Regions from separate parts of the Homo sapiens genome. Here region 2 is linked to region 1. The links are contacts of gene promoters, found by promoter capture Hi-C in blood cells and fetal thymus (Javierre and others, 2016). All regions are on one chromosome and are shown on one strand. Each heading gives the region's core, a stretch centred on a gene start or on the middle of the fragment in contact. The rest is flanking DNA. Distances are from core to core; before and after follow the strand shown. Region 1 has its middle 4.8 kb from the start of OR7G3. Region 2 holds the start of OLFM2 (olfactomedin 2).

Evidence for each region. Contacts are between HindIII fragments. The CHiCAGO score rates a contact against its expected background, and 5 or more counts as called.
Region 2: a contact is called between the fragment with the promoter of OLFM2 here and a fragment that was not itself captured in region 1, in 1 of 17 cell types (erythroblasts). The highest score is 5.1, in erythroblasts.

Annotation. Positions count from the first base shown.
Region 1 is chr19:9,130,117-9,133,342 of GRCh38, forward strand. No RefSeq gene overlaps it. Among named protein-coding and RNA genes, the nearest start is that of OR7G3, 4.8 kb to the left of the region's middle. The HindIII fragment of the contact is 4,665 bases long and covers 1-3,226 here.
Region 2 is chr19:9,934,885-9,938,110 of GRCh38, forward strand. It overlaps OLFM2 (olfactomedin 2), which reads right to left and starts at 1,631. Exons shown (of 6, transcript NM_058164.4): 1 at 1,420-1,631. The coding sequence starts at 1,482. RefSeq lists enhancers at 887-1,481, 2,148-2,650. The HindIII fragment of the contact is 5,720 bases long and covers 1-3,226 here.

The DNA.
Region 1 (3,226 bases), core at 208-2,707:
GAGGTGCAGGTTGCAGTGAGCTGAGATCACGCCACTTCACTCCAGCTTGGGTGATAGAGTGAGACTCCATCTCAAAAAAAAAAAAAAAAAAAAAAAGAAGAAGAATGTCTTAGGGCTGAGCAAAGAAGGCATGTGCTCAAAATCCCACTGAGGGTTCTCCTAGTGTAATAAGGTACAGAAAAGAAAGAACTGGGCTTGACACAGTGGCTCAAGCCTGTAATCCCAGCACTTTGGAAGGCCGAGGTGGGAGGATCACTTGAGCCCAGGAGTTTGAGACCAGCCTGGGTTGTGTGTCTGTACTCTATCTAGCCTGGGTGACAGAGCAAGATGCTGTCTCAGAGAAAAGAAAAAGAAAAAAGAAAAAGCCAGGCGCAGTGGCTCGCGCCTGTAATCCTAGCATTTTGGGAGGTAGAGGCAGGCAGATCACTTCAGCCCAGGAGTTAGAGACCAGCCTGGGCAACATGGTGAAACCCCATCTCTACAAAAAATACAAAAACTAGTCAGGCATGGTGGCATGCACCTATAGTCCTAGCTACTCAGGAGGCTGAGGTAGGAGGATCACCTGAGCTCAGGAGGTCGAGGTTGTTGTGAGCCGTGATTGAGCCACTGTACTCCAGTCTGGGTGACAGAGTGAGATCCTGTCTCAAAATAAAGTAAGAAAGAAAGAAGCTAAACAAACATCAGTATGGGGATAGATACACAAATTATGGCACTATTATTACATGTAATAATAGTGTTAAACTAAGCATAGTGAATGCCCACCAATTTCAGAGAGTGGTGGTCCCCAGGAAGGGAAGGAGAGGAATAAAAACAAATCAAGAGGACTTCATGTTTAAGTGTTATACTTTATTGTTATTATTATTATATTTAGTATTTTAAATCTATTTTTAAAATTAAAAAAAATTTTTTTTTTTTGCAGAGATGAGCTCTTGCTATGTTGCCCAGGCTATGTTGCTATGTTGCCCATGCCTGTAAGCCCAAAGTGCTAGGATTACAGGCATGAACCACCACATCTGGCCTGTTTTGGGGTTTTAAAAGAGAAACCGAAAGACTGGAAATGTAAGTGAGTGGGTCTCAACTTCCTCTTCTGGAGTTTCTCACTGTCAAGAGATGGGGACAAGAGTCAAGTTATTTAAGGGTGAAATCTGGCAACAGACATGGTGAAGATTGAAAAGCCAGACACATCTCATCAAAGCCCCATCTGCAGTCAAAAGAATGAGGAAAACCATGGGGCCAGGCATGGTGGCTCATGTCTGTAATTCCAGCACTTTGGGAGGCCAAAGTGGGCGGATCACGAGGTCAAGAGATCAAGACCATCCTGGCCAACTTGGTGAAACCCCATCTCTACTAAAAATACAAAAGTTAGCCAGGCATGGTGGTGGGCGCCTGTAATCCCAGCTACTCAAAAGGCTGAGGCAGGAGAATCGCTGGAACCCAGGAGGCGGAGGTTGCAGTGAACTGAGATGGAGCCACTGCACTCCAGCCTGGTGACAGAGCGAGACTCCTTCTCAAAAAATAAAAAAAAGAATGTGGAAAACCAGAGAACTGTAGATTCCTTTTGTTTATTTGTTTGTTTTATGAGACAGAGTCTTGCTCTGTCACCAGGCTGGAATGCAGTGGTGCCATCTCAGCTCACTGCAACCTCTGCCTCCCGGGTTCAAGCGATTCTCCTGCCTCAGCCTCCTGAGTAGCTGGGATTACAGGTGCATGCCACCATGCCCGGCTAAATTTTTGTATTTTTAGTAGAGATGGGGTTTCACCATGTTGGCCAGGCTGGTCTTGAACTCCTGACCTCAGGTGATTGATCCGCCTTGGTTCCCAAAGTGCTGGGACTACATGCGTGAGCCACCGCACTTGGCCAGATTCCTTTTTGAAGGGACTAATTCATACTTAGGTAGGGAAGGAGTCCCTAGGATTTAGAAGACAGAATGAGAGCTGAAAATAATGAAATCTGATTATAAATTGTAAGAAAACAGGGGAAGTAAATATATCATGAAAAGGGTCACCGATTAGTTTGGAATCTCACTTATAACAATTCTGCTGAATTGTCTCTTACTTTATGGTTGTCCTCCAGATAAGATGGGAGAAAAAATAAAATAAAAAACTTGTTCAGTTTCTCACAGCATTTATTGGGAGCATTTCAGATTACCTTGAAGGCATCAGTAAGGAATTCTCCATTTTTTTTCTTGGAGAATTGTAAGATGAAATGGAAGATCTATCCCCAAGAAGGGCAGATGAACCAAGTAAGGCAACCCACTCTTGGGCAAGAGGGATCATCTCTGGAGCAAGACTCAGGTGTGATGTTTCCTAACATGAGCGGGGCTGTTGAGTGGAGTGGTCACCGGTAGATTATTTGCAGTCTCTGTGGCCCCTAGGAGCTCAATTTTCAAAGCTGCTCATTAGCTAGATGTGTACAGTACTGTCATTTCTTCCCCTAAGGCAGCTCAAATCCTTAATGAGCACAGGTCAGACGTGAGCACAAAGGGGGAATTCCTGGATGGTTGACTTTCTGACCCCAAGGGACAAGCTGTATGTCATTCTCTTCCAACCACATTTCCTCTTATCCCGAGGGTATCTCATTCTTGGATCCTAGGATCGGACCCCTAGGGAGCTGGTGGAATCCTCCTTAGACAGAATCCCAGCTTTCTCTGAGTCAGAAATTGCTTTTTTTTTTTTTTTTTTTTTTCAAACCAAGTCTCACTCTGCGCCCTGGCTGGAGTGCAGTGGCGTGATCTCAGCTCACTGCAACCTCCGCCTCCCAGGTTCAAGCGATTCTCCTGCCTCAGCCTCCTGAGTAGAGTAGCTAGGATTACAGGCACACACGACACCTGGCAAATTTTTATATTTTCAGTAGAGACGAGGTTTCACCATGTTGGCCATGCTGGTCTCAAACTCCTGACTTCAAGTGATCCACACACCTCGGCCTCCCAAAGTGCTGGAACTATAGGCACGAGCCACCGCACCTGGCATCAGGTATTTCTTTATACCAACACAATAATGGCCTAGTACAGTAAGTTTTTGGAAAAGAAATGGTGACATAATGTTGACAAAATGCAGATAAAGCCCAAACCCAGTCTGAAACAAATGAAGAACAAAACCTAAAGTTGATAGGGTATGAAATGGTGCAGTGATGGTGACAAAAAATGGGGCCTGTGTGGGTTTCTCTTTAAATATTGACCCTAAACTTGGGAAGACAAGGGGAAAAATGTCTGCATTCATAATCAAA
Region 2 (3,226 bases), core at 381-2,880, 800 kb after region 1:
GTCTGATTCTTTTCTTGATAAGGGGAAGGTGCCCAAATTGTTTCTCCCCTGCCTATCTACCTAAAAGCCCACCTAGCAATGTCTTCACGGACGCTGTCCACACCCATGGAGCGGATTATTTAACAAGAGGGTAATCGTGTGGGCTCAGGAGCCGGACTGCCTCGGTTCAGTCCCACCTCTGTCACTCTCGAGCTTGAGCAAGTGATTTAACTTTTCTGCGCCTCAGTTTCCCCATCCATAAAATGAGGTAACAATACCATGCTCTAGTAGGGAGGAGGCAGAGGGGGTTAAATGCCTTAGTCTGTGCTGTGTGATTGAAACAGCACCTCTCAAATTAGCACGTAATGAATGATCACTGTTATCATAATGACTATTTTATTATTTTTGATCCCAGCTTCCCTGTGAACTCCTACAGATCTGAGAACTTGGGGGTGCTCTCACTCCCAAGATGGAGGAGGAGAGGGGCTTTCCAATAGCAAAAGAGAGCGTGGACGCCCCACATTTTGCAAGCCTCCCTGAGCCTGCCCAAGAGAAAGGTGCCATGGGGAGGGAGACCCGCTTCTGTAAGGGTATGAATGGCGTGTGCGGTTGTGAGCAAGGCACCAAGATACACACACACACGTGCATGGATGGACACGTTTGCACACACAGCGCTTGCACACACACACACCCTTTTAGAGTGATTTACCCAAAGGTACAGAATAGCACACGCTCACTCCAAGGCTCTCACACGGCCACACACCTGGCCACACACGTATTGTACAACACCCAGTCATCTGGAGCCAGTAATGAGGACACGGTCACACACAGACTCTGTCTCACGTACTGATCACACCCCAACTCGGGCACTAGTTGGACAAGCCCCCCAACCGCCACACACACAAACTCCCCCCGGTCACACCCAACCACGACACAAAGACACACACGTTTACCCTGCACCCCCACAGCATTTCACACGCGTCCCCGTCAGTCACTCTCACGTGAGTCCCGTCCCCTGCCCCACACTGGGGGCTGCAGGCGAGGAGTGGAGGGCTTCAGAAACTGGGCATCTCGGCCCCGAAGAGGAAGTCAAGGGTAAGCAACCGCCCCCCTCCAATGCCCCCTGAAGTTTCCCTCCCAACCCCATTCAGCTCCAGCGAGATGGCGGGGTGGGGGCTCGGGGCCATGGAGGGGTTGAGAACCCCAAAGACGCCACCCCCCAAACCAGCCCAGCTTGAGGCTGGATTTGAAGCCCCCCTCGTCCTCTCCCAAGCCAGAGAGTGCACGTCCCGGCCCCTCCCCCGCTGCGACCCCCGCCCCTCGCCGCCCTGCAGCTGGGGGGGCTTGTGGAGCCTCCCAACCCCGTTTCTCCGGGAACCCTCCGCGCCCCCCTCCTCTCCCGGAGCCACCCGCGCCCGCACCTGCCCGCCGGGCCCCTACCTGTCCGGCCAGGCCTGAGCACAGCAGCAGCAGCAGCGGCGGCGGGACCGTGAGCGGCCACATGACGCGCCCCTAGCCCGGCGTCCCGACCCCCGCCCGCCCTAGCGGCGCCTCGGCGCGGGGACCGCCACCAGGCGCGACCCCGCCCGCCCGGCCGGGGCGACCCTGCGCCGCCGCCTCCCCCGCCTCGCCGGCGGCCGGGATTCCGCCCCACCCCCGCCCCCTCGCTCGCTCCGAGTCTTTGTTGCGGGCTCCGCCCCCCGCCCCGCCCCCAGCTCCTCTTCGGGAGCAGCTCGAGCAGGGTCGGGTGGGGGGGTGGGGGCGGGGAAGTGGGGGAGCCAGCGCCGGCGAGGGGACCTGAGGACAGGACTTGGCAGCGCCCCCCAACCCCCAGGCCATTCCGGGAGCGGGTCGCGGAGGTGGGGGAGGGGTGCCCGTCACGTGTTTGTAAATTTCACCCTCCGGGGGCATTTCCCACGTTGCAGGTGGGACGGGGACGAATGGTTGGGGGAGAGGAATAGGAGGAAGGCCTGGTAGCAGAGAGGGGAAATGATGAACGCCCCCTCCCTAAAAACTCAAGAGTCAACAGGGAAACTGAGGCAGAATCTGAAATTGGAAGTTGGAGGAGGGGTCAATGCCAGGACAAGAGGGGTGAGGCATAGATGGAGACGGGGAATAAGAGGAAAAAATTGAGGTTGGGGGGACAGGAGACCGAGAATCAGGCAAGAGGCCAATGGAAATGGCCACGTGGGTGGGCTTGGCCTCAAAAAGGGGCGTCTCGTTTTCACTCTCCCCGGGCGCCCCATTTCCCCACCAGTCCTCCCGCTGGAAGCCTCCCCGCCTCCGCCACACCTGGAAGAGTTTCTCTTCGCTCCCTGTTTCAATAGCCCAAGATGAAAGACCACATCCCCCGAGAGAATCAAAATATTAACACCGCCTCCACGCGAAGCCATTTGCATATGAAGGGCGTCCTTGTCTAGCCTCACTTTCGGGAGGCTTTCCAGCCTTTCTCTGCCTCTCACTCCTCCAAAAGTCTCCCTAGGCCGGGCGCGGTGGCTCACGCCTGTAATTCCAGCAATTTGGGAGGCTGAGGAGGGTGGATCATCTGAGGTCAGGAGTTCAAGACCAGCCTGGCCAACATGGCAAAACCCCACCTCTACTAAAACATACAAAAATTAGCCGGGCGTGGTGGTGCATGCCTGGAATCCCAGCTACTCGGGAGGCTGAGACAGGAGAATCGCTTGAACCCGGGAGGCAGAGGTTGCAGTGAGCAGAGATCGTGCCATTGCACTCCAGCCTGGGCAACAGGAGCAAACCTTGTCTCAAAAAAAAAAAAAAAAAAAAAGTGTCCCTAGTCGTCTTTCCTCCCCACAGCCCCTCTAGGGATTCGGATATATGTAGGCAGAGGTGGAGGAGGGGGGCGGGCAAATAAGTCAGATTGGAAAGAAATCGGGCATAAAATATGCGAGGCCAGGAAGCCTGGCATTTTTGTGACCCTGATACTGTTGGGCTAGGAGGGGTCTCCCCAGACGCTGGTGGGGCCTCGACCCCAGCTGGTGTCCAGGCTCTTAACACCATCGCAAGAATGAATTCAAGGAGGAATCAGAAAATCATGAAAAGTTCGGAGATTTTTTTGTTAAGGGAAAAGTCCACACTTGAGAAAAGGGAGTGGGCGTACTTAAGAGAGAGAGATGGGCAAGGTGGTTTGGGACTGCTACCTTTATGTGTCTCTTTTTTTTTTTTTTTTTTTTTTTTTTTGAGACAAAGTCTCGCTCTGTCACCCAGGCTGGAGTGCAGTGGTGTGATC